7 separate regions of the Homo sapiens genome follow, and all the other regions are linked to region 1. Evidence: promoter capture Hi-C in human tissues and cell types (Jung and others, 2019). All regions are on one chromosome and are shown on one strand. Each heading gives the region's core, a stretch centred on a gene start or on the middle of the fragment in contact. The rest is flanking DNA. Distances are from core to core; before and after follow the strand shown. Region 1 holds the start of GTF2F1 (general transcription factor IIF subunit 1). Region 2 overlaps RFX2 (regulatory factor X2). Region 3 overlaps RFX2 (regulatory factor X2). Region 4 overlaps RANBP3 (RAN binding protein 3). Region 5 has its middle 5.7 kb from the start of RFX2. Region 6 holds the start of TNFSF14 (TNF superfamily member 14). Region 7 overlaps RFX2 (regulatory factor X2).

Region 1 (3,621 bases), core at 1,003-3,502:
AAATTAGCTGGGCGTGGTGATGGGCACCTGTAGGCCTAGCTACTTGGGAGGCTGAGGAAGGAGAATGGCGTGAACCCGGGAGGCAGAGCTTGCAGTGAGCCGAGATCGTGCCACTGCACTCTAGCCTGGGCGACAGAGCGAGACTCCGTCTCAAAAAAATAAAATAAAAAAAAACAAAGACGTGAACTTGAGCAGGCCAGGCCCTTCACACACGGCATCTCCTTAAAGCATCCTGAGGACTCTATCATCCCATTTTACAGTGGAGGGAACCGAGGTTCAGTGAGAGGCAGGGACTTGCCCACGCTCCCAGTCTCATCCCATACTCCCCTTCTCTCTGTTCCAGCCCCATATCCTACTCCCCTTCCCTCTGTCCCAGCCCCAACCCATACTCCCCTTCTCTTTGTCCCAGCCCCAGGGGGCTTCAGTTCTTTGAATTTGAAACTCACTTCTCCCTTGCTGTTTCCTCTGCTTGGAAAATCCCTGCCTGCCCCAGTTCCTTCTGGCCACAACTTCCATCTGGCCTTCTCTAGCCTCCATCTAGAGCTTCCCCCCATCACTCCTTGTCTGAGACACCTATTTCCTCCACAGCAATGGCCACAGTCTGTCATGATCTTCTCTGTTTACTCGTTCTTTTTTTTTCCTTCTTTTCCTTCTTTTTTTTTTTTTTTTTTTTTTGAGACGGAGTTTCGCTCTTGTTGCCCAGACTGGAGGGCAATGGCGCGATCTCGGCTCACCACAACCTCTGCCTCCCAGGTTCAAGCGATTCTCCTGTCTCAGCCTCCCGAGTAGCTGGGATTACAGGCATGTGCTACCACGCCCGGCTAATCTTGTATTTTTAGTAGAGACGGGGTTTCTCCACGTTGGTCAGGCTGGTCTCGAACTCTCAACCTCAGGTGATCCGCCCGCCTCGGCCTCCCAAAGTGCTGGGATTACAGGCATGAGCCACCGTGCCCAGCCGTTTACTCGTTCTTGTCTCCCCCAAGCCAGACACTCCATGAGGGCAAGGACTATTTCTGCCTCCCTCATTCCTATATTCCTAGGGGTTGGCGGTTCCTGACATTTAGTGGTGGATGAGAAATAAATGAAAACAGACACATCGACGGTGTCTGTAGTTCATGGCCCAACTTTTGTGTCTTGCCCGCCTTCCCTTTGCTTAGCCAACTCCTATGCATCCCTCAGTGCCCAACTGAAACCTCCCCTCTTCTCTGAGCCCTCAGAGCCCCGCTGTGCTTCTCCTGCTCCTTCCTGGGTTGTAGATTCCCATGCTGTGACTCTGTCTCTTCCACGACACTGTAACCCTCGAGAGGACACTGTAATCCTCCGTGGGGAGCTGGTTTGACAGATTCACCTTGCGGGGCCCCGAACCCAGGAGGTGCTGGAGTATTTGCGAAGTGGAGCAATGAATGGTTGCGCCGTGAGCATGCGCAGTTGTGTTACTGCCATGATTCGGGGGATGTGTGCATGCCTGGAACGGGGTAGGGGATCCTGCATCTCCCTCCTGTTCTCGGCAGCTTCCTTCCCTTCCCCCCAGGAAGCCAGCCAGCCGCCCCCGCGACGTTACCCTTCTCCTGGGGCCTCAGAGCCCTGCCCATCTCGGGCAGCTTGGACTTGCAAAGACCCATCCGGCCAGCAGCTCTTGGGGTGGTCGCGCCCCGACCCCGCCCAGGCTCTGACCCCTCCTGGCTCGGCTCAACGTCACAAGGGTCCCCGCCCCGGTCATTTTGCGGGAATGACGGGGTCCACCCCTTCGGGGTAGGGGGAGGAAATGAACCCCAAACAGACCCATGGGGAGCCAAGCGGCGGTTCGACCCGACCCGAGTAGGCCTCGGTTGCTATGGTGACGCGGCCTTCTGGGCCCCCCAGGTCCAGAGCGGCAAGGCGCATGCGCAAAGTGCCTGGGAGCCCGCAAGGGGGATTCGTCTCCCTCTTCCCACCCAGGATGCCCCACGGTCCTTGGGTGCTGACGTCACGAGAGAGGGCGGTCCCCCATTTGATGAAGTTAACCGCGTTATATACAAGAGCGCCAGCGACAGAGGCCCGTTAGTTTATCTCAGACTCGGCCTAGGTTTGCTGAGTCTAAAAAGGGACCGCGGTGGACCTTTTGAGGTGACCATAGCCGCCGAGGAGCATAAGTGACTGCGCACTGAGGTGGCCACAGTCGCTAAGAAGGTTGCCATCGCGACGCGGCTGCTCGAGGGTTTCGCTTCCGGGTTAGGCGGCCGCAGAAGCGTAGACCGAGTAGCTTGAGCGCCTCTTCCGGTTACCTTTTCCCAGCGCCAGAGGCGCCTAGGGTTGGGGTCCTCGCTCAGGCACAGAGACCCGACACCGAGCGGCGGCTTCCCCGGGATCGAGGGACGCGCACGCCAGAGGAGACGAAAGGAACCCGGGTCGGACCAGATCGGAACCACTGACCATTGCCCATGGCGGCCCTAGTGAGTGTGGATTTGGCGGGGTTCGGGGGTTCCGACGGCGACCTCGGCGACCCCTCACTCACCGCTTCCTCTTTCCGCAGGGCCCTAGCAGCCAGAATGTCACTGAATACGTCGTTCGAGTTCCTAAGTAAGTCCCCAGCCCCATCTCCCACTCCTCTCCACCCCCCAAAAATGAAAACCTTCACGATCTTCTTAGCCAGCCATTTCTGGCCCTGTCTGTGGTTCTCCCTCCAGACCGGGAGAGACTTGGAGGGCAGGGCTGGGATTAAGCTGAGGCTTCTCTGGGGACAACACTGCTTTTTTGAACGAATGAATGAATGAGTGCATTAATACACGGTGATCCAGCCCCCTGGCCTAACCTTCGAGGAGTATATGGTCCCATGATGCCCAGGCCAGCTGTAAGGACATATTCCTCGTCCTGTTTCAAAGTGGTCAGGCTGTCTTTCCTTTCCAGGCCTTTGTACATCCTGTTCCTCTGCCATGAGTGCCTCCCCTCAACCCCTAAACTGTGACTCTGCTGGGTGAATTCTTGATGATTCTGCAAAACTCAACTCCAGTATCTTCCTCCTCCAGGAAATACTCCCTGCCTGTCCTCCCTCCTCCCCAAGGCTGAGTTCACAATAATCTCCACATCTTGGGTTCCCCCAAATCTTCGTCCCTCCATCTGCTCTTCTTCTGCCTGGGGTCAGGAGAGGATGGGTCTAGCTTCTCTGGCAGACTGGGAATCCTTGGAGTCTTCCGTATCCAGTGTTGCCAGGCAAAACAGGCTGAATGAAGCTGGGTGGGTTTGTTGAGTGAATTGAATTGAATTAATGATTCAATTGAATGGAATGATTGAATTGAATTAATGGTTCAATTGAATTGAGTGATTGAATTAAAGTAATGATTTGATTGAATTAACGATCCAGTTGGGTGGTTGATTGAATTAATGGTTCAATAGCATTGACTGATTAAATTAATGATTGAATTGCTGTATTGGATTGACACTACCTCTTCTCATCCACTCCAGGAATACAACCAAAAAATATAACATCATGGCTTTTAATGCAGCCGACAAAGTCAACTTTGCTACGTGGAATCAGGTAAGTCTCTGAGTCCTGGGGGTCAGGGGCTGGGGTGGTGAGAGAACTTGACCCTGACCTTGGTGGTTGTGATAGTTGCTTAACTGTCATAGTCACTAAGTCTTAAT
Region 2 (3,788 bases), core at 961-3,460, 340 kb after region 1:
GCCTTTTCAGACTGGCTTCTTTCACTTCATAGTATGTGTTTAAATTTCTTCCATGTCTTTTCATGGCTTGATAGCTCCTTTCTTCTTCTGAAAAAATTTCAGTTTTGAAGAAATATTGCTTTTGTTCATTTTCTCCATTGTTTGTGGAGTTTCTAATTTCATTAATTTTGTTCTTTATTGTTTTTCCTTCTTTCTATTAAGTTTAGTTTGTTTGTCTTTCTATATAGCTTTTTAAGGTTGAAAACGTTCTTAAATCTTTCTAACATAAGCATATAAAGCTAAACATCTCTTTCTAAGCACTGCTTTAGGTGTGCCCACTTTTTTTTCTTAATAATTTTACTTCTTTTTTTCACCCACAATATTTGTACCAGTGCCCACAAATTTTGATACAAAGTGTTTACATTATAATTCAGTTCAAAATATTTTCTATTTTTCTTTGGGGTTTATTATTTGACCCATGGATTATTTTGAAGGTGTATTTTAAGTTTTCTAAATATTTGGCATTTTTCTAACCTTCTTACTGATTTCTAATTTACTCCACTGTGGTCAAAGTGCATACATGCTCTGTATAATTATGGTATTTTGAAATGTATTGAGGCTTATTTTATGGCCCAGAACATGACCCATCACAGTGAATATTCCATGTGCATTTGAAAAGAATGTGCAGGTTTTGATTGTAGTGTTCTCTAAATGTCAATTACATCAATGTGGTTGATAATATAATTCAGATATTCTGTATCCTTAGTAATATTTCTGCTTAGTTCTTCTAATTTTGATTCAGTAATCAAAATTACTGAATGAAGGATGTTTAAAATCTCCGATTATGATTGTTTATTTCCTCCTTTAGTTTTGTTAATTTTTACTTTACGTATCTTGAAGCTGTATTACTAGGTACATACATATCTGTAATCAATATGTCATACTGATAAATTGATCATCTTATGATGAAATTTTATCTGCAGTAATATTCCTTGTCTTGTCAATGTCTCTAGTATTGCTAGTAATATTTCTCATCTCAGAGTCTATTTTGTCTGATTATTACAGCCGCTCCAGCTTTCTTAAGATCAGAGTTTGCAGGCTGAGTGTGGCGCTCACACCTGTAATCCCAGCACTTTGGGAGGCCGAGGTGGGTGGATCAAGAGGTCAGGAGATGGAGACCATCCTGGCTAACAAGGTGAAACCCCGTCTCTACTAAAAATACAAATATTAGCCTGGTGTGATGGCGGGCACCTGTAGTCCCAGCTACTCGGGAGGCTGAGGCAGGAGAATGGCGTGAACCTGGGAGGTGGAGCTTGCAGTGAGCTGAGACTGTGGCACTGCACTCCAGCCTGGGCAACAGAGCGAGACTCCATCTCAAAAAAATAAATAAATAAAAATAAAAGATCAGAGTTTGCACAGTGGATCTCTTTTTATTCTATTACTTTCAACCTATGTGTGCCTTTATTTTTAAGGAGGGTTTCTTTTAGGGACCATATAATGGGATCTTGATTGTTATCCAGGCTGATCATTTCTGCCTTTTCATTCAAGAATTTAGTCTATTTACACTTAATATATTATTAATATGTCTAGATTTAGCAAAGCAATTCTGCCATTTGCTTTCTATTTGTGCCATCTGTTTGTTTGTTTGTTTCTCTGTTCTTTATTTCTTGCCTTTATTTAGATAATCAAATATGTTAAGTAGGATTTCATTTGATTTCTCTATTAGCTTTTTAGCTATACCTTTTTGTATATATATTTTTTTGGTTAGTGGATGCTTCAGAGGTTACAATGTGCATTGTTAATTTATCACAATTTATAGAGTTAACATGTTACTACTTTAGGTAAAATAAAAGAACCTTGAATGTATAACTTAATTTGTCCCCATCCTCTGTGTTACAACTGTCATGGAGAACATCTACATATGATATAAACCCCACAATGGAGTGTTATAAAGTTTTTGTTAAATAGTTTTATGTATTTAAAATAAATTAAGAGAAGAAAAGGAAAAATATAAAATATATAAAAATACGGTTTTTTATAATTACCTGCGTATTTATCATTTTAAGTGATATTTACTCCTAATAGATCCAAATTTACCATCTGGTATTAATTCCTTTCATTCTGAAGAACTTCCATTAGCATTTCTCATGGTAGGCAGAAAATTTTATCAGGTTTTGTTTATGCAAAAAATGTCTTTATTCCACCTTCAGTTTTTAAGAATAGTTTTGCTGGAGATAGAATTCTGGGCTGATAGGGTTTTCCCCCCCAGCATATTAAAAATGTCACTCCATTGTCTTCTGGTTGCCATTGTTATTGATGAGAAGCCAGTCATCATCTGTGCCCTTGTTCTCCGAATATAATATGTAGTTTTTCTCTGACTGCTTCTTTTAACAGTTTAACCATGACATACCTATCTTGGCTTTCTTTGTATTCTTTTTAGGGTTTGTTGAGATTTTTGGACCTCTAAGTTGATATCCATCACCCAATGTAGAGGTGTTTGGCCATTTTTCAATATTTTTTTCTCTTACATTCTCTTTTTCTCTTCTGGGACTCTCGTTACATATATATTAGACAGTTTGTTCTATTCATGTTTCTTCATATATTTTCTCTTCATTCTTCAGATTGGGTAAATGCTTTTTATCTATTGTTAAGTTCACTAACTCTTTCCATTATCTTTAACCAGCTGTTGAGTGCATCCAGTTAAGTTTTTGTTTCAGTTATTGCTCTAGAATTTCTATTTGGTTCTCCTTTTATACTTTGTTTCTTGATTGAGATTCCCATATGTTCATTCATTATGTATATAACTTCCTTTAAGTTCTTGAAGTTATTTTTAGTAGCTGCTTTAGTCCTTGAATGCTATCTGTATCATCTGGGTTATCTTGCGTTTGGTTATAATTAACTGCTTTTCTTTTTTCTTTTTATTTGTTACTCTTTCTTTTGAGTGTATGTTACACTTTCCTGTTTCTTTTCATAGCTCATGGTTTTTACTGGGTCCTGGACATCATTAATGATGTATTGTAGAATCTGTAGGTTCATCTGAGTTCCCCTGAAGGCAAGTGACTTGGCTAGATTCAAACTCTCCCTCCTGCAACAGGCAGCAGCTGAAATCTTCACTTAATTTTTTTATCTTTGCACTGCTGGTTTTTCCCCAAGACCCCTGGTATCTCCCCCACACCTTTGTGGTGTAGTTGCTTAGCCAAAGATTCAGGTGTATTTTGTAGGAAGATTTGAGGGCTCACCCCTTCTGTGGCTCTCTCTCTTCCAGAATCTCCACACCCCAGCATTCAGAACTCTGTCCTCTGACCCTTCAGGATAACGAGGCTGATGCTTTCTGGCACCCAAGCATTTGTGGACTGGGGCATGCCCACAGGCAAAAAGCCACAGACTCATTGGTCTGACCTATAAGACAACACATGGTAAATAGTGTGTTAAATTAGGGGAACAGGCTGGGCACGGTGGCTTATGCCTGTAATCCCAGCACTTTGGGAGGCTGAGGCAGGCAGATCACATGAGGCCAGGAGTTTGAGACCAGCCTGACCAACATGGTGAAGCCCCGTTTCTATAAAAATACAAAAATTAGCCAGGCATGATGGTGGGTGCCTGTAATCTCGTCTATTCAGGGGACTGAGGTGGGAGAATCACTTGAACCCAGGAGGCAGAGCCAAGATCATGCCATTGCACTCCAGCCTGGGTGACAGAGCAAGACTTCGTCTCAAAAAACAATAATAATAATTAATAAAAATAAATTAGGGGAACACATTCATGTGTAAATGCCTGTGATGTGGAACAACTTGCTTTCTGGAAGGTGC
Region 3 (4,012 bases), core at 824-3,323, 310 kb after region 1:
CATGGTGAAACCCTGTCTCTATGAAAAATTCAAAATGCAAAAATAGCCAGGTGTGGTGGTGTGGGCCTCTGGTCTCAACTACTCCAGAGGGTGAGGTGGGAGGACCTCTTGAGCCTGGGACGTTGAGGCTGCAGTGAGCGATGTACATGCCACTGTACTCCAGCCTGAGTGACAAAAGCGAGAACCTGTCTCAAAACAAACAAACAAACAATCCAAAGATGTTATCTTATACAAACAATCCAAAGATGTTATCTCATATAATAATTTTCTCTAATCCACAAGTTTCTGTTCCTCTGTGAAATGCCCAAAGACCCTGAATCATGAAGGTCCCCAGCACATGTAAGAGCTACACAGGGTGGTGGAGGGAAGGGAGGGTGACAGTTCATTCAGATGCTACAACAAAAATATTAGAGACTGGCTGGCTTCTAAACAACAGGAATGTGTTGCAGTCAGCTCTGGAGGCTGGGAAGTCCAAGATCAAGGCACTGGCAGATTCAGTGTCTGGGGAGGGCCTGCTTTCTGGTTCGGCTTCTGCCTTCTAGCTGTGTCCTCACGTGATGGAAGGGGCAGGGGAGGTCTCTGGGGCCTCTTTTGCAAGGACCCTAATCCCATTCCTGTGGGTGCCATGCTCATGACCTAATCATCTCCCAAAGGCCCCACCTCCAGATGCCGTCATATTGGGGGTTAGGTTTCAACATGTGAGTTTTGGGGGGACACAACATTCCAACCATAGCACAGGGTCAGAATCCAGAGGACATGAGGGCTGGCCTCCCCCTTCCCTGTGACATTGCTCCAGCTCCTGCCCGTGCACACTCCCTTTTCAGAGACTGCCCAAAACCCCACATCCTCCGCCACTGAGATGGAGACAGGACAGGAGTGTTGGTCTTCACCCCCAGAGTGTCCCTGACCTGCTGGACGCAGATTTCTAGCGTGGTTATTTGTCATTACATGGGCTATTTGATACCTGCCCTTTTATTTATTTGGAGTTATTTTAGGCTCTGTTTTAAAGACATGAGTCCAAACATCTGAGTCTAATACAGAGTGGGCAAACTAGCCCATGGGCTAAATCCAACTCACTGCCTGTTTTTGTACAGCCCATGAACTAAGAATGCTTTTTTCCTACATTTTTAAGTAGTTGGAAAAATCAAAAGAAGAATATTTTAGGACATACAAAATTATCTGAAATTCACATTTCAGTGTCCATAAATTGTGCTTGCTTCAGCAGCAAATATACTAAAACTGGAACCATAAATAAAGTTTTATTGGCACACAGCCACAGTCATTTCACCCTACAATGGATGGGGTTGAGTCATCTTGACAGCGAGCGCTTGACCTGCAAAACCTAAAATATTTACTATTCCACATTTTACAAAAAAAGCTTGCCACCCCCTGGTCTAACGCACATTACTTGGCTATATGTGACTAGTACTCATGTGTATATGAATGTGATGCTGATTTTGAGGTTTATAAAACCCCTTAGGCTCTTCAATGGTGTTTAACATATTTTTGCTTTCTCTAAGAGAGAGAGGAATAATATTTACTTTGTTATCTTCTCCAGTTTGTTGTAATTAAAGAAGAGTCTTTGGCTACATCCATCTTGCAGGATGAATTTCGTTGCCTTCTTATACCTATGAGAACTGTGCCTTTAAAAAAAAATGCTGGGCTGGCATGGTGACTCAAGCCTGGAATCCCAGCACTTTGGGAGGCTGAGGCGGGTGGATCACCTGAGGTCGAGAGTTCGAGACCAGTCTGACCAACAGGGAGAAACCCCATCTCTACTAAAAATACAGAATTAGCGGGGCATGGTGGCACATGCCTGTAATACTAGCCACTCAGGAGGCTGAGGCAGGAGAATCGCGGGAGGCGGAGGTTGCAGTGAGCCGAGATCACGCCACTGCTGTCCAGCCTGGGCAACAAAAGTGAAACTCCGTCTCAAAAAAAAAAAAAAAAAAAAAAAAAGCTGTAGTGCCCTGGCCCTTCTCTGTGGCATTCTTCTTTGTCTTTCAGGCCCTGGCCAGCCTGGGTTAGGCTTAGAGCAGCACTCTGGGCTGGGAAGGGCTCTGTGTTCAGGGGTCATTGCTTCCTCTTTGTTCTCGTCTCTGACTCACCAACATGCAGCTCTGGGTGACTGTCCCTTGAGGACTGTGGCTTCCTGGCGGGTTAAGCCAGTTCTGGAAGTGGGTGTGCAGCTTATGGCAGCCAGGAGTGGTTTCTGAAATTAATTACTGCTCTAGATGATGATGTAAGGAGTGAGACTCCTGGGGAGAAACTGCCCATGTGGAGAAACCCAGCACCTGTAACCCATCACCTTCGTATCAAAACACGCTGTCCACCTAAGAAGGGCGAATGTGCCATGGCTAATCAAGGAAAATAATTTCTGTTTAGCTGTCAAAAAAGCTATTTCCATGATATCAGCCCTTTGATTTGGAGCTGAAACCTCCAAATCAAAATAAATTCTGCAGCATCTGAATCTTTTGTTGTAGCTGGATTTTTTAGAGTGAAGGCATTGCTAGGAATTACTGACAGAGTCCAGGGAGGGGCTAGAATTGGAATCGGGCTTCTCTGAGGTGAGAAAGTTAGTGGGGACTCGCCTTAATGCCTGGCTGTGGAACTGATCAAGGTCACTGGCTAGATGTGGTAAATCAGATGGGCTTCCTTGGGTTGGATGGGTGGATGCTAGAAAAAACTGCACTTCTCTCTAAGTCCCTTTACTCGCCTCTGGCAGGCATCTCCCTCCTGGGCTTCCTCTGATCCTCGATCCTCAATTCCTGGGCTTGGTGGACTGTGGGTTAATTATCTCCTAAGTGTTCTTTGAAAGCAGAGCCAATTATCAGCACAGTCCCTTCCCAGGCTGTTTGAATTCCTAAATACAGGGCAGTGGGAGGGAGGAGTAGCCACCTGTGGACTGTGGCTCCCTGCTGGAGACGGGTGTGCGTCTCGCTTCGCCCCTGTGAAGGTTATGCCTGTCGCCCTGTCTATCATGAGTCTGTCTCTGCAGCTTGTGGCTTCTGACCCGCTGCGACCATCTGCCTGTGCTCAGTCCCCACCCAGGAAGTGAACTGATTCTGTCACTTTCTTCTAAAGACCACAGATCTGCCTGGTTTATACAACGAAGCTCGTCTGAATTGGAGTCCTCAAATTTGTGAATTTAAGTTTTAAAAGATTAAAAAAAAAAAGACATACTGCTGTAGCCCAGTGGTTTTTAATCTTTCATCAGTCTGGATCTCTTTCAAAATCTGCTCAACACTGGGAATTTCTCCTCAGAAGAACAGGCATGGAAGGGCAAAAATTACATGACAATCTACGTTAGTAGTAAACAGAAAAGGCAGAGGTGCCCATGTGATGTTTGTATCTCTGTAGAGTTGTGTGGTCAGAACAGACAAATTCCCTTTGCAAATAATAGTAAGGAAGCGCATCACTGAAAACAGGAATGAGCCGTGTGCGTGGATGCATCCATTACTGTCAAAGGGGAGACACAGAAGTCATCTAATTCCTGTGAGCTTCTCTTGCAATTCACTTTTACAGTGCCCTTTCCGGCAAGATTAGATTCTTGTGTGTTATTACTTAACTTTAATTATTTGCTTATAATGCAGTCATGCCATGCATAACATTTCCGTCAACAGCAGACCACATATACAAGTGATCCCATAAGATTATAATGCTGTATTTTTCCTGTACCTTTTCTATGCTTAGCCATGTTTGGAGATACAAATACTTACCACTGTGTTACAATTGCCTGCACTGTTCACTGCAGTCACATGCTAGACAGGTTTGTAGCCTGGGAGCAATAGGTTATACCATACAGCCCAGGTGTGCTACGTAGGTTGTAGCGTCTAGGTTTCTGTAAGTATCACTCTGTGATATTCGCACAATGATGAAATTGCCTGAGGTTGCATTGCTGAGAACGTATCCCTGTCAGGAAGCGACTCATGGCCGTATTTTACTCCTGCAAGGGTGCCAAGATCATTCGATGGGGTAAATACAGTCTTTCCAATAAATGATGCTGGGAAAA
Region 4 (3,449 bases), core at 711-3,210, 420 kb after region 1:
CCCCTTAATGTCAGAATTGCCCCCACTTGAGAACCATTGGGTTATGGGATTTCATTGACACCCAAGAGACTTTGTGTTCCATAGTTATCTAACCTACTGAGGTCGTAGGAGCCTGTACACATTTAAAGCCACAGTCTGAGTGGGGAGGGAGAGAGGCGGTGAATCCCAGAAGCCAGGGTGGGGGGTCACCCTGGTTTGTGCCATCTAATCTATTGGGGATTTATTTTGGTGTATAATGTGAGTTAGAGATCCAGCTCAATTTTTTTGCCCAAGATTAATGCAAGGTTTCTTGCCCTCAGCTCAGTTGACATTTGGACTTGGGTCACTTGCTGGTAGGGCACTGTTCTGAGCCTCCTAGGATGTTGGTCAGCATCCCTGGTCTCCATCCACTAGATGTCTGTAACAGTTTCCTCCACACCCCCACAAACATGACAGTCACAATGTCTCCAGATTTTGACCAGTGTCTCCAGGGAGATGAAGTTACTCCTGGGTGAGAACCACTGGTCATAGGATCAAAGGAACCTACCCAGGAATAAATTAATTGCCAGCTAGAGTTTAAGGCCCTTCCTCCCAACCTTATTTTTCTATTCTGGCCTTTTGGCAGCTGAGTAGGCCTCAATGGACATCATATCCCTCTTCAGGAAGAACAGTCTTTTCCTTGACCTTTAACACTGCCTCTGGTCCAGGGTGAGGACCTGACAGAATGTAAGGGCTGGGAAGAACCTTCAGGGATGCCTGAGTCCTGGCTGCACCATTTCACAGGGGCTGAAGCCCGAGGCCATGGAAGCAGGTAGGGCTGGCTAGGGCCAGTGCGCCTGTCTCCAGCCATGGAGTCTAGGAGTTCATGCTTGTCCTTCCCGGTGAGTCAGTAAACTCTAGGTAATGGGCACTCGTTCACCCCTGAAAACTGACCCGCGTAGGGCACTGCATTTCGCTGTCGCTGTTTATGGTGTTCAAAGAAAGGGAGGAAATTCTAGAGACAGTAGTAGTTACTCCATACACATGTTTAGAAGGCAGGCCTTGCCTTTTGCAGTAAGTTTAAAATGCCTTTGCTAAATTAAACTCCCCCAGGTTTGCCACAGAGAATTTTGGGAACTTATTTACCCAGAATTAATTCCTGCGTTGCATCTGTGAGAGCAGAGCGTGAGTGGAAACGGTCCTTGAGAACTTGCCTTTCTCTGGGGGAGAGGGTGAGAAAACAGGCAGTTACCCTCTGCTCAGAGGAGAGAGGATGTTTTGCAGCATTGATGGTGATGGCCACTGGGTCCTAAGAGTCCAGAGCCTGGGCCCCAACCTTTACACTGGATAAATCCAGATTTGTCAGCATGGCCTGCAAGGCTGAACGTCCTGTGGGCTCCACCCAGCCCTTCCCGTTCTCCTCCCCTCCAAACATGGGCCTCCAGGCTCTTCCTTTCCTTAGAACCTTTGACTTGGGGTCCCCTCTGCCTGGGATCCCCTGCCTTCACCTGGCTCATCCCTGCTCACCCTTCATGTGTGAGCTTCAGCGAGGCCTTACCCATTCACTCACTCTCTCCCACCATCCTGTGGTATTTTCTCTGCAGCACCCAGCTCCAGAACTACCCAGTTATCTCTGCACACAGCAGGTACTTGTTTGTTTTCTCTTTCCCAGTAGAGAGCTGCGGCCTTGTCTGCCATTTCTTTCCTGTCTCCAGTGGCAAGCTCGGTGCCTAGCACAAGTCTGTGCTTGGTAGATCCTGCTGGTGAGAGCAAGGCTTGGCTGCTCGGCTCGGCCTGCCTTCAGATCCCACCTGTTTCCTGTGACCTCAGAAGGGCTCAGGCATTCCGAGCACCTGAGCGTTTGCCTTGAGTGTCCCAGGCGTCCAGGCAGCTCTTGGATCCAACCATTCCACCCCCTAAAAGGGGTCAGACTCTGACGCATTTGTCGTTGCCGGGCACTGGCAGCTGTCCTTGAATCCAAGGCCTATGCTTTAAGGTGGCATCAATATGTTTGCAATCTTCCGAGCATAATAATGCTACCAGTGCCAGTGTGGAATCATCCTGTGTGCCAACCACTTCCCCAAACACGGCATGTGCAGCATTTCATTTCATCCTTGCCGAAGCTGCCTGGGGTGAAATAACAGCCCTGATATGCAAATGAAGACATTGTGCCAGAGGTACATTGTCTTATCTGGGATCCCAACCGCAAGTAAGTGGCCAGGGCAGGTTTGAACACACACAAAGACCAGAGCCCGCGCTCTCCAGTATCATCAGTTTTGCTCTGCTGCCTCAGCATAAATTCTGTAGTTCTTGGATTTCCTTCCTGTAAGCTTCCGTGTAGAGAGGAGGGGATTCCTGTTGTCTCTACTGGAACTTTCCCGAGTCTTCAGCCACTTGCATGTTGCCTCAGCTGTGTTGGTGTCACACCACCTAGTGGCGGAACAGAAAAGTGCCGTTAAAGCTGGATCCTCCATCTCTCCACGCAGTTTTTTCTTTTTTCTTTCTTTTCTTTTTTTTTGGAGACAGAGTCTCACTCTGTCGCCCAGGCTGGAGTGCAGTGGTGCTATCTCAGCTCACTGCAACCTCCACCTCCTGGGTTCAAGTGATGCTTGGGTCTCAGCCTCCCGAGTAGCTGGGATTACATATCCCACCAGGCCCAGCTAATTTTTGTATTTTGGGTAGAGACACGATTTCACCATGTTGCCCAGGCTGGTCTCAAACTCCTTTCCTCAAGTGATCCACATGCCTCGGCCTCCCAACGTGCTGGGATTACAGGCATGAGCCACTGAACCCAGCCATCCATACAGTTGTAGGCAGAGTTGCTGACTTTGTATAACTTTATGGGGTTTCTGTTCAGAAGTGCAAGTTCTGCCCCCCGGGGCTTACGGTCTGGGTGGCGCAGGAGTGGAAGCTTAGAAGGGTTTGGCTGCAGGGCTGATAAAGGTAGAAATAAAGAAGGCAGAATGTGGCTTGGCCCTCATGGGGTGGAGTGGGATATGAGGAGGATGTCATGGGGATGCGTCTATGATGAATGAGACTAGATATGTAAAGTACCTACCTCGGAGTCCAGTAAAGGCCTTTTAACAAATGCCTGTTGCCCCTGCAATGCTTGTTGGAAGTGTAAGTATCTGGTGGTGAGATGAGAGTGGTTGGAAGTTGGCTTGGAGTTCGGTAGTTGAAGGTAATGCCAAGATGATGAGCATTCCAGAAAGAAGTACATAAAATGTAGGATATCATCAGCTCCAAAAAGTGTGTCCCCATAATCTCCATGAGACCAGTTGAAAGTTATAGAAATATATTCGAGTATTGAGAAAAGAACGGAGTCATCCAGGGTCCCACCGCCTTCCACTAGCTGGGCTGGAGAACCCGAGCATGCTATACACGGAGATCCGCAGAGGCATCACCTAGCAACTGCATGTTTGAGATCAGTTCCATTCCGTACCAAAGAATCAGTTGGAGGACAGACCTGACACGTCAGTGACAGATTTACC
Region 5 (3,812 bases), core at 1,072-3,571, 280 kb after region 1:
ACCCATCCTTGGAATCATTTGATGCTGGGGTTTCAAATCGGTGATTCTGGGCATGCAAACACTCTGTTGTGCCCCTTGCCTTCAAAACAGCTCCATTTTCACCTGTTTAACTCCAAACCCAGGTCTCTAGACACCTAACCCTCCTCACTAGCCTTCCATGGGAACTGAAGCTTTACCACAGCTTTATTATGGGGTGATGTGAGGCAAAGAATTCATTTCACAGCCAAAAATTTGGGAATACACCTAGGTAATTTCCTTTTTCTTTCTTTTGTTCTTTCTTTCTTTCCTTCCTTCCTTCCTTCCTTTTTCTTTTCTTTCTTCCCTTCCTCCTCCCTCCCTCCTTCCCTTCCTTTCCCCCTCTCTTCCCTTCTTCCCCCTTTCTCTTTCTCTCTCTCTTTTTCTCTCTCCCTTCCTTTCTTTCCTCTTCCTTCCTTCCTTCCTTCCTTTCTTTTTTTTTCCTTCATTGACAGAGCCTCTGTTGCCCAGGCTAGAATACAGTAGTGAAATCACAGCTCACTGTAGCCTCATATTCATGAGCTCAGTCCTCCTGCCTCAGCCTCCCAAGTAGCTGGGACTACAGATGTGTGCAACCATGCCTGGCTAATATTTTAAATTTTTTTTTAGAAATGGAGGTCTCACTTTGTTGCCCAGGCTGGTCTCAAGCTCCTGGCCTCAAGTGATCCTCCCACTTTGGCCTCCCAAAGTGCTGGAATTACAGTCGTGAGCCACTGCGCCCGGCCTAGATCACATTTTGTTTATTTGTTCCTCCATGGATGGACACTGGAGTTGTGTGCATTTTCTGGCTTTATGAGCTAATGCTGCTAGGAATATTCATGTAGAAGTTTTTGTGAAGACCTAAGTTTTCACTTCCTGTGGGCAGACACCTAGGAGTGGAATTGCTGGATCCCATGGGAATTCCACTTTTTACATTTTGGGGAACTGCAACTTTGAGTTTTAGAAGTGGGAAAGTCCCAAGGAAACCAGGATGAGTTGGCCATCCTGAAAATGATTCCTCCTTGGTGTCACTTGCCCTTGGGCCTTAGGTAAGAGGAGCAAGGGAGTCAGGTGTTGCCTTGTGCACACCCCTTTCCCTCTACCACTGCCTGGTTATCCACTCCTGTGGCTTCTTCTGCTGCAGACTTCAGCTCTGCTATTTCCTCTCCAAGCTGTGCCCAACAAGGTCCTCCAACATGGTTCAAGTGGCTACTTTAAGGAGGCAAAGCTTTGTCTCTGGAATGAACTGGACCAGAGTCCACTAGGAGAAAATATCAGCCTTACCTCCATTCATTCAAGAATTAAGCTTCATCTGTCTCCTCGCTGTCTGCCCTGGGTGTCCTATGTCAACAGGAATGTGGCACTTCAGCAATTTCTCTTTTCTTTTCTTATTAAGAGACAGGGTCTCTCTCTGTCACCCAGGCTGGAGTACAGTGGCGTGATCATAGCTCACTGCAGCCTCCATCTCCTGGCCTCAAGCGATCCTCCTGCCTCAGCCCCCCAAGTAGCTGGGACCACAGGCACATGCCACCACGCCCTGCTAAGTTTTTAAAATTAATTTTTGTAGAGATGAGATCTCACTGTGTTGGCCAGGTTGGTCTCAAACTCCTGACCTCAGGTGATCCACCTGCCTCAGCCTCCCCAATTGCTGGGATTACAGGTGTGAGCCACTGTGCCTGGCCCTTAATGTATTTTCTAATTTCCCTCATGATTTCTTCTTTGAGATTGAAGAGTTTTACACATTTTGGTTAGTTAAGAAATATATAAATACTATAGTAAATATGCCACATTGCCATGAAAAAGGGCTGAAGTTTGCTTGAGGAAGTTGCTATTGAAGGATTGCAGCTTGTGAGTTATTGTGAAAAGGTAGAAAAGTCATCTGTAATCAGATGGAAAGTTGTAATGCTAGGCATAGATAAATGTGGCTCATAATTCACAGGAAGCTGAGGTGGCTGGTAGATATTTCAGATGTGTGCTTATGCATATTTTGTGCAGTCCTACACGATTTGGTCCAGACAGGTGCAGTTTTCTATTTACCTAGTGTTTCTTGCAGACAAAATTGTGCATAAGGAAGGCAAAATCCACATTGTGCTCAAATTGTTTCCTATTATATCCACCACTTTGGGACTAACTGACATTTCAAAGACAAGCATTCTAGCAGAACGGAGTGTACAAACCAGCTACAAGGCACCTCCTGTCACACCCTAAAACGTTATCCTTCACTCCCCACATCTAGTCCACTAGAGTGTTCTTCCAAATGTACCCTCAGTCCACCCACTCATGTCCGCCTCCACTACCAGGTCCCTAAACCAAGCCACCATACTTTCCCACCCAGGAGAACTGGGACAGACTCCTAGGATCTCTCTCTGTCCCTTTTGTCTCCTACAATCTATTCCCCATGAGGTGGCTCAACTGAGCTTTCATTTTTATTTTTATTTTCATTTCTGTTTTTTGAGATGGTGTCTCTCTCTGTTGCCCAGTCTGGGGTGCAGTGGTGCGATCTTGGCTCACTGCAACCTCTACCTCCCAGATTCAAGCTACTCTCCTGCCTCAGTCTCCAGAGTAGCTGGGACTACAGGTGCCTGCCATCATACCCAGCTCATTTTTGGGTTTTTAATAGAGACCGGGTTTCACCATGTTGGCCAGGCTGACCTCAAGTAATCCACCCCTCTAGGCCTCCCAAAGTGCTGGGATTACAGGCATGAGCCACTGGGCCTGGCCTCAACTGAGCTTTTAAAATTATAGTTTAGGCTATGCATGGTGGCTCATCCCTGTAGCCCCAGTACTCTGGGATGCCAAGGAAGGAGGATCACTTGACATCAGGAGATCAAGACCCTGTCTCTACAAAAAAAAAAAAAATTCTTGTATTTAGCCAGCCTTGGTGGCACATGCCTATAGTCCTAGCTACTTGGGTGGCTGAGGTGGGAGAATCCCTTGAACCCAAGAGTCTGAGGGTGCAGTGAGCTGTGATCGTGTCACTTCACTCCACCCTGGGCGATAGAGTAAGAGTCTTTTTTTTTTTTGAGACGGAGTCTCACTTTGTCGCCCAGGCTGGAGTGCAGTGGCACCGATCTCGGCTCACTGCAAGCTCCGCCTCCCGGGTTCACGCCATTCTCCTGCCTCAGCCTCCCGAGTATCTGGGACTACAGGCGCCCACCACCACACCCGGCTAATTTTTTGTATTTTTAGTAGAGACGGGGTTTCACCGTGTTAGCCAGGATGGTCTCGATCCCCTGACCTCGTGATCCGCCCACCTCGGCCTCCCAAAGTGCTGGGATGACAGGCGTGAGCCACCGCGCCCGGCAAGAGTCTCTTAAAAAAATAATTAATTGACAAAATAAAATAAAATCACAGATCGGGTGACATTCCACCCACTCCCCACCCCACCTGTCCCCGCACACACCCCTGCTTAAAACCCTCCATGGGGGCCGGGCAAGGTGGCTTACGCCTGTAATCCCAGCACTTTGGGAGGCCAAGGGGGCCGGATCACTTGAAGTCAAGAGTTTGAGACCAGCCTGACCAACATGGTGAAACCCCATGTCTACTAAAAATACAAAAATTAGCTGGGCATGGTGGCGTGCACCTGTAATCCCAGCTACTCGGGAGGCTGAGGCAAGAGAATCGCTTGAATCCAGGAGGCGAAGGTTGTAGTGAGGTGAGATCGTGCCACTGCACTCCAGCCTGGGTGACAGGCGACTCCATCATAAAAAAAAAAACAAATTAAAAAAGAAAATGCTTTGGAATTAGATATAGGTGGTGGTTGTACAACATAGTGAATGTACTAAATGCCACTGAACTGTTTCCTTTTAAAATGGCTC
Region 6 (3,611 bases), core at 683-3,182, 280 kb before region 1:
GTCTTAGCCTAAGCTCAGGGGCAAGCTGGCAGCAAACTGTATCTATAAAGGGCCACATAAGTGTTTTTGGCTTTCAGGGCCAAGAGGTAAAATCAAGGATATTACAAAGATACTTATGAAACAAGACAGAAGCCAAGTGCAGTGGCTCACGCCTGTAATTCTAGCATTTTGGGAGGCTGAGGTGGGCAGATCACCTGAGGTCAGGAGTTCGAGACCAGCCTGGCCAACATATAGACAACATATATGTTACAACATATATAATGGCCAACATATAATACAAAAATTAGCTATGCATGGTGGTGGGCGCCTGTAATCCCAGCTACTCAGGAGGCTGAGGCAGGAAAATTGCTTGAATCCGGGAGGCAGAGGTTGCAGTGAGCCAAAATGGCACCACTGCACTCCAGCCTGGGTGACAAAGTGAGACTCTGCCTCAAAAAAAAAAAGAAAGAAAAAGGCTGGGTGCGGTGGCTTATGCCTGTAATCCCAGCACTTTGGGAGGCCAAGGCAGGCGGATCACGAGGTCAGGAGATTGAGACCATCCTGGCTAACACGGTGAAACCCCGTCTCTACTAAAAATACAAAAAATTAGCTGGGTGCGGTGGTGGGCGCCTGTAGTCCCAGCTACTCAGGAGGCTGAGGCAGGAGAATGGCGTGAACCTGGGAGGCGGAGCTTGCAGTGAGCCGAGATCGCACCACTGCACTCCAGCCTGGGCGACAGAGCGAGACTCCGTCTCGAAAAAAAAAAAAATCCACGCTTGAATGCATGCACACTCATACATGGACCTCCCCACACACATGAACACACCCGTGCAAGTGCGCACACACACATACACGCACCAATGCACAGGCACACACACATGCACACACCTGCACACAGCACATATATGCACACCCACTTGCACATGTGATGCATGTTCACACATACACACACGTGCACATGCATGCATGTACATGGACCACATGCACATGCACACAGATGACCATACACATATGCATGCACCTGCCCACATATGCACGCACATTTACATGCCAGCACATGTATGATACACAGGCATGCGCCTGCACATGTGTACATGATACACACTTGCATGCACACAACTGAATACACACATTCACATGCACACACTGCACACATATATGCATGCAGACAAGCACACACACAGAGCACACATCCACTCCTTTATTCCACTCTTGTGTTTTTCACTGCACTTGTCACATCAAAACACAACAGAAGGCCGGGCATGGTGCGGCTCACGTTTGTAATCCCAGCACTTTGGGAGGCTGAGGTGGGTGGATCGCTTGAGGTCAGGAGTTCGAGACCAGCCTGACCGACATGGTGAAAACCCATCTCTACTAAAAATACAAAAAGCAGCCAGGCGTGGTGGCACGCGCCTGTAATCCCCGCTACTTGGGAGGCTGAGGCAGGAGAATTGCTTGAACCCAGGAGGTGGAGGTTGTAGTAAGCTGAGATCGCGCCACTGCACTCCAGCCTGGGCAACAGAGCGAGACTCCATCTCAAAAACAAAACAAATAAACGAACAAAAAAACCCACAACGTATTATTTTCTTGTTTACGAGGTTTCTTGTCTCTCTGGCTCCACCAGAAGAGGAGCAGGGACCCTTCTTGCTGTTGTTCATTGCTGCATCCCCCACACCGAGAGCAGAGCCTGGCATGGGCAGAAAGTCCTCAGTCGATATTTGGTGGCCCCAAGCGAATGAAGCATCCAAGAAGGGAAAGCTGGGGGCTCCCCACTGCACTTGCCACCTGAGTCACATTTTCAGAAGCCTCTGGAAAGTGTGAGAGTCTGTATGAGTGAGAGTGAGACAGGGCCAAGACCGGGGGCGGCGGGTACCGGAAGAAGAGGAGGGTGAGTGGGGGAAGGGGTGGGGCTGAACCCCAGCTCTAAAGGCGGCCCACGGGTGCCTGTCCGCAGCGTGCACAGCCCAGGAGTGTTGAGCAATTTCGGTTTCCTCTGAGGTTGAAGGACCCAGGCGTGTCAGCCCTGCTCCAGACACCTTGGGCATGGAGGAGAGTGTCGTACGGCCCTCAGTGTTTGTGGTGGATGGACAGACCGACATCCCATTCACGAGGCTGGGACGAAGCCACCGGAGACAGTCGTGCAGTGTGGCCCGGGTGGGTCTGGGTCTCTTGCTGTTGCTGATGGGGGCCGGGCTGGCCGTCCAAGGCTGGTTCCTCCTGCAGCTGCACTGGCGTCTAGGAGAGATGGTCACCCGCCTGCCTGTGAGTGGGACCGGGGGGCTGAGAGCAGGTGGAGGTGAGGGGGGCTCCCCTGTGTCATTGTGGGTCACTGTGTGTCTGTGTGTGTGTGTGTGTGTGTGTGTGTGTGTGTGTGTAGGACAGGGCACAGGCTGAGAGCAGCTGGCTTGACTGGTTGCTGCTCCCAGCCTTGGGCAAGTGAATTCACCTCTCTGAACCTCAGTGTCTTCATCTACAAAATAAGGGCAGTCTCTTCATAGGGGACGAAGTATGCTATGGCATGTGTAGTACCAGACGATGCCAGCTCCACCCGTCGGAACTGACACCCCAACACTGCCATGCACACCCCTGTGCACACACGCATGCATTTTCTCTGTACTTTTTTATTTTTGAGACGGAGTTTCACTCTCGTTGCCCAGGCTGGAGTGCAATGGCATGATCTCTGCTCACCGCAACCTCTGCCTCCCGGGTTCAAGTGATTCTCCTGCCTCAGCCTCCCGAGTAGCTGGGATTACAGGCATGCGCCACCACGCCTGGCCAATTTTGTATTTTTAGTAGAGATGGGGCTTCTCTATGTTTGTCAGGCTGGTCTCAAACTCCCGACCTCAGGAGATCCACCCGCCTCAGCCTCCCAAAGTGCTGGGATTACAGGTGTGAGCCACTGCGCCTGGCCTTCTCTGGTACTCTTATTACTGTTACTGCGATTGTCATTAATTCTCTGACCATTTCCATCTGTGGAAATTTCTCGGTCTGCTTCCAGCTGGCTGTGGATGTGTCCGCCTGTCTGTGTGCCTCACCTGGGGGTCTATGTGTGCCCAACACCATACCCCTGTGGGCTTGGCCCCTTTTGTGTCCTGGGTCTGGATCCGGTGGCCACACATTCGTGTCCATATACCCATGTGGACGTATGTGCGTGTACCCACATGTCCACACACCCGCCTAGCTGCAGCCGGTGTATTCACGTTGTCTGTCTTTGTCTCTGGGTCTCTGTGTCTGTAGACGCACATGGATCCATAAACCACAAACCACATGTCCACGCATCTGAGCCCACATGTGTCTTCTCAGCGTCATGATGATGTTGAGGTCTGTGCCCTGTGGCAGGTGCTATATCCCAAGGGTGGTGTCCATGTGTCCAGCCATCTCGCTGTCTGCATTTTTTTTTTTTTGAGACAAGGTTTCTCTCCCATAGCCCAGGCTGTAGTGTAGTGGTGCAGTCTTGGCTCACTACAACCCCACCTCCCAGGTTCAAGTGATTCCCTTGTCTCAGCCTCCTGAGCAGTAGCTGGGATCACAGGCATCCGCCACCGTGCCTGGCTAATTTGTGTATTTTTAGTACAGACGGGGTTTCACCATGTTGGCCAGACTTGTCTCGAACTCCTGACCTCAAGTGATCC
Region 7 (3,957 bases), core at 339-2,838, 320 kb after region 1:
GGGTTGGATGGTGGCATTTGAGACAAGCAAAGAGATGACGGATGGAATAAATATTTCTAATTTTGTCTTTCTTCGCTTCATTTTCATTTCTTCAGAGATCCCTGGGTCTTGCTGAGGGGATCTCTGACTTGGCTTGATTTTCTGTCCCGGGCCAATTGAGATATGTCTGTGCCTCAAAGATAGACGATCACTTAAAAGTACCGACAGGATCTTTCCCTCCCAAAGACAGGCGAGACCTCCTCCCGTCAGGCTGAGTCCATTCCTTGTCTGGAGCCAGGGAGCTCTGCTTCCCAAACTCTCACAGCAAGATTCCTGGCCTCACTCATTTGTCTTGCATTAAATTTCCTTGCAATCTTGCATAATTCGAGCATGACTTAGCAAGAAATGCATTTTTAATATGTGACTCTAACACTTTCTTATTTAAGGATGCATGTTTGTACGTTGACATAGCAAGAAAAATAGGTATATTAAAACTCATTTCTAATAATACTCGAGTGTGGAAAGATTAGCCATTTGGCAAATTTGAAAAGAGGTATGGAGTAACCATAAGGAAAGCAGTGAGGGCCAGGCACGGGGGCTCACGCCTGCAGTCCCACACTTTGGGAGGCTGAGGTGGGAAGACTGCTTGAGGCCAAGAGTTCAGGACCAGCCTGGACAACATAGTAGGACCTTGCTACTACAATTTGTTTGTTTGTTTGTTTTAAGTAGCCAGGCGTGGTGGTGTGCACCTGTAGTCCTAGCTACATGGGAGGCTAAGGCAGGACAATCACTGGGCTGAGGGCCCAGGAGTTTGAGGCTGCAGTGAGCTATGATCCAACCACTGTACTCCAGCCTGGGTGACAGAGCAAGACCCTGTGTCTAGAAAAGAAAAAGAAAGCAGTGAAAAAGGCAAATCATGTGCATAAACCTGAGGAGTGGGGCTTCTGTCAGGCATTGAGGTGGGACCATGGGGTGGGGGCAAGTATTGGTCACATGGAGCCCATATGTGACTATGAACCCAGGGTCTGCTGGAGGCTCTGATGTGAGGTCTGTGGACCTAGGTCATCATACTTTATACCCAGGCCCTATCGTGTGGCTTCAAGCCCGTCCACCCTGCTGAGAGTGGAGGCCCCCAGCAGCCAGCTATTGAGGCTGGCGAGGAGTAAACACAGGGATTCCATGGATGAAGAATGGGACTGGGGACCAGGACCCCCCTCCAGAAGGACTATGACTTGGTGTCACCTTCCAGGGTGGACACTCTGTCTTCTCTCCTGTACTGGTGGATGCATATCCATGCACCTAGCCCTGGCCAAGCCCACCTGTGTTCTGCAGGACATCCCATTCCATCCCATCCACATCCCATCCCATCCCATCCCATCCCATCCCATCCCATCCCATCCACATCCCATCCCATCCCATCCCATCCCATTCACATCCCATCCCATCCACATCCCATCCCATCCCATCCACATCCCATCCCATCCCATCCCATCCCATCCCATCCACATCCCATCCCATCCCATCCACATCCCATCCCATCCCATCCCATCCCATCCCATCCCATCCTATCCACATCCCATCCCATCCCATCCACATCCCATCCCATCCCATCCATGAAAGAACATCCACTTGCAAGTCTCCCTTCTTTCTCCTATCCCAGTTCCCTCCTGGTAGGTCCTACCTGCTATTATTTCTTTCATTTTCAGAAACCCGCTCTCAGTTTCCTCTTCCAGCTGCCTCCCCATTCCTCTTCCTATCTTTCTAGCAAAAATTCCTCAAAAGAGCCATCTGGTCCTCCTGTCTCCAGTTCTGCTCCACTTGGGGCTCTCTTGAACCTGCTCCAACCTCTGTGGCTTTTGCACACACTTTTCCCCTGGAGCTCCTCTGTCACAATCACTGGTGACCTCCACTTTGCTGATTCCAGTGATCACCACTCAGCCCCAGAGTCACTTGGTTCTCAGGACACCACTTGCTTATACTTCTTTGGCCTCTTTTCAGGCTCCTGCTTCTTTGGGATCTCTAAATGGTAGACAGCCCCAGAACTCAGCCCTAGGCCTCTTCTCTCTGCTCTTCCTTGGTGAGCCCAGATAGTCTTATGGTTTTAACTAGGTCATTTATACACTGATGACTCCAGCCTACATCCTGTATACACTGGTGGCTCTAGCTCATGTTCTCTATACACTGATGGCTCCAGCCATGTCATCTATACACTGATGGCCCCATCCCATGTTCTCTATACACTGATGGCTTCAGCCCACATCCTCTAGACACTGGTGGCTCTAGGTCATGTCCCCTACACACTGATGGTTCCAGCTATGTTATCTATACATTGATGGCTCTAGTTCATATATTCTATACACTGATGGCTCCAGCCTGCATTCTCTATACACTGATGGCTCCAGCTCACCCCTCAGCCTGAGACTTATGTAATCTGCCTGCTTTCTCAGCATCTCAACCTGGGTGTCTAGGAGCCTCTCACACTTTACACCTTCAGAACTCAACTCCCAAGTGCTCTCCAGGCCTTTTTCTTGGGTAATTTTCCTGACCTCATCCTTTTAGTTGCCAAAAACCTTGGAGGTACCCTTGACCCGTCAGCAGATCTGGCTGACTCTACCTCCTATGTTTATCCAGAGTCTGACGGCTTTGCCCCTCCATGGCTCACAGCCAGGCCCCCCTCCCTTGCCCAGATTATCACATTAGCCTCCAGATTGCTCTCTCTGCTCCCACCCTTTTCCTTCTTCCCCTATTCTCAACCCAGCAGCCAGAGGGGCCTGGTTAAAATGCAAGTCAAACCAGGCCATTCCTGGGCTCAAACCTTGTGATGGCTTCCATTTACCCCAAGCAAAAGCCAGAGCCCCTACAATGGCCTGTGTGGGCCTTTCTCCTTGCCTTCTGGTTCACTCAGCTCCAGTTTCAAGCCAGGCATTGTCCCACCTCGGGGCCTTTGTACTGGCTTTTCCCTCCATTAGGAACGCTCTTCCCCAGGATATCTGGACAGCTCCGTCCCACACCTTCCTCATCTCTTTAATGAGCCCACCCAGGGAAGCATTTGACAACGCTTTAAAAATTGCAACCCCTTCCTATCCCAGCACTCCTTCTGTCTGCTTCCTTTTCCCCCTGGTACTTGTCACCATATGATATAGGGTGTCATCTGACGTACGACATATTTTTCTCACTTACCTTGTTTACTGTCCATATGCTCCTATCCTCCCGCATGGTCTAGAATAGAAACTCCATGAGGGCAGGGAATTGTGTTTTGATGACTGGTCAATGCCAGGCCCATGCTATGGATCCAATAAATATTTTATTGAAATCAATGAATGACACAGGATCTCTGTTACTCATCCTTCTGGACATGGGGTTTGGAGTCCTCACAGCCGCACCTCAATGCCTCCCTTGGGATGCAGCATCCAGGCAGAACCCAGCCGTGTCCCCTAAGCAAAGCCTCCCATGGCACCAGCTGCTGGTGATTTGACCTCCAGGACTAGCATTCAAGGTTGTCACCACATCACCACTTAGCCATACATTAACAGCCCAAGAGTCTGGCTTCAAATTCCTCATCTCCCTGCAACACAGATTCAAATTCTAACAGTATAGAATCTGTCTTCCTTTCTTCTCAGGGAGGCATGTCTATTCCATTCCTATTCTAGGAATGACTCCTGGATGATATCTTAAAAAAACAGTTTCTGTGCACTGACTGTGTCTGTCTCAAAGGGCAAACCTCCGCTGAGAGCTCCTTGAAAGGTATGCTTGGTCATGCACAAATCTATCAGCATTGTGTGCTTTTATCATCCAAAATGTTGACCCATCGAGGCTGCAGCTACATGTTGCTCATTCTATCAAAATGTTTTAAGATCCTTGGCTGGGCCCACCAAAAACAAGAGCACTGCTTAGAGCTCTGTGTTCCCCTTGAAAGGTGGTGGTGCCACTTCACCCTCTCCTGGTCCCAAAGCCTCAGAGAAGCCATGCTCAGCCTGA

The links. Contacts are between HindIII fragments. The study calls those that stand out against the background at their distance.
Region 2: a fragment that was not itself captured here is called in contact with the fragment with the promoter of GTF2F1 in region 1 in 1 of the 25 tissues and cell types used here (dorsolateral prefrontal cortex).
Region 3: a fragment that was not itself captured here is called in contact with the fragment with the promoter of GTF2F1 in region 1 in 1 of the 25 tissues and cell types used here (dorsolateral prefrontal cortex).
Region 4: a contact is called between a fragment that was not itself captured here and the fragment with the promoter of GTF2F1 in region 1, in 2 of the 25 tissues and cell types used here (dorsolateral prefrontal cortex and spleen).
Region 5: a contact is called between a fragment that was not itself captured here and the fragment with the promoter of GTF2F1 in region 1, in 2 of the 25 tissues and cell types used here (aorta and lymphoblastoid cells).
Region 6: the fragment with the promoter of TNFSF14 here is called in contact with the fragment with the promoter of GTF2F1 in region 1 in 1 of the 25 tissues and cell types used here (adrenal gland).
Region 7: a fragment that was not itself captured here is called in contact with the fragment with the promoter of GTF2F1 in region 1 in 1 of the 25 tissues and cell types used here (dorsolateral prefrontal cortex).

The regions. Positions count from the first base shown.
Region 1 is chr19:6,391,795-6,395,415 of GRCh38, reverse strand. It overlaps GTF2F1 (general transcription factor IIF subunit 1), which reads left to right and starts at 2,252. Exons shown (of 13, transcript NM_002096.3): 1 at 2,252-2,432; 2 at 2,513-2,559; 3 at 3,442-3,514. The coding sequence starts at 2,421. MIR6790 (microRNA 6790) reads left to right here and starts at 2,433; the gene lies at 2,433-2,495. It also overlaps the pseudogene LOC390877. The HindIII fragment of the contact is 23,950 bases long and covers 1-3,621 here.
Region 2 is chr19:6,049,463-6,053,250 of GRCh38, reverse strand. All of the region lies in intron 1 of RFX2 (regulatory factor X2), which reads left to right. Among named protein-coding and RNA genes, the nearest start is that of RFX2-AS1, 11 kb to the left of the region's middle. The HindIII fragment of the contact is 9,272 bases long and covers 1-3,788 here.
Region 3 is chr19:6,086,159-6,090,170 of GRCh38, reverse strand. The region is part of intron 1 of RFX2 (regulatory factor X2); the gene reads left to right. Among named protein-coding and RNA genes, the nearest start is that of RFX2, 22 kb to the left of the region's middle. RefSeq lists enhancers at 2,390-2,889, 2,899-2,968, 2,890-3,391. The HindIII fragment of the contact is 3,299 bases long and covers 424-3,722 here.
Region 4 is chr19:5,967,045-5,970,493 of GRCh38, reverse strand. The region is part of intron 1 of RANBP3 (RAN binding protein 3); the gene reads left to right. Among named protein-coding and RNA genes, the nearest start is that of RANBP3, 9.4 kb to the left of the region's middle. RefSeq lists an enhancer at 2,222-2,516. The HindIII fragment of the contact is 6,212 bases long and covers 1-3,449 here.
Region 5 is chr19:6,114,291-6,118,102 of GRCh38, reverse strand. No RefSeq gene overlaps it. Among named protein-coding and RNA genes, the nearest start is that of RFX2, 5.7 kb to the right of the region's middle. The HindIII fragment of the contact is 3,250 bases long and covers 697-3,812 here.
Region 6 is chr19:6,668,481-6,672,091 of GRCh38, reverse strand. It overlaps TNFSF14 (TNF superfamily member 14), which reads left to right and starts at 1,932. Exons shown (of 4, transcript NM_001376887.1): 1 at 1,932-2,241. The coding sequence starts at 2,023. RefSeq lists a silencer at 803-902 and enhancers at 1,473-1,702, 2,083-2,172, 3,073-3,262, 3,323-3,412. The HindIII fragment of the contact is 26,746 bases long and covers 1-3,611 here.
Region 7 is chr19:6,067,622-6,071,578 of GRCh38, reverse strand. The region is part of intron 1 of RFX2 (regulatory factor X2); the gene reads left to right. All of the region lies in intron 1 of RFX2-AS1 (RFX2 antisense RNA 1), which reads right to left. Among named protein-coding and RNA genes, the nearest start is that of RFX2-AS1, 7.0 kb to the right of the region's middle. The HindIII fragment of the contact is 5,534 bases long and covers 1-3,957 here.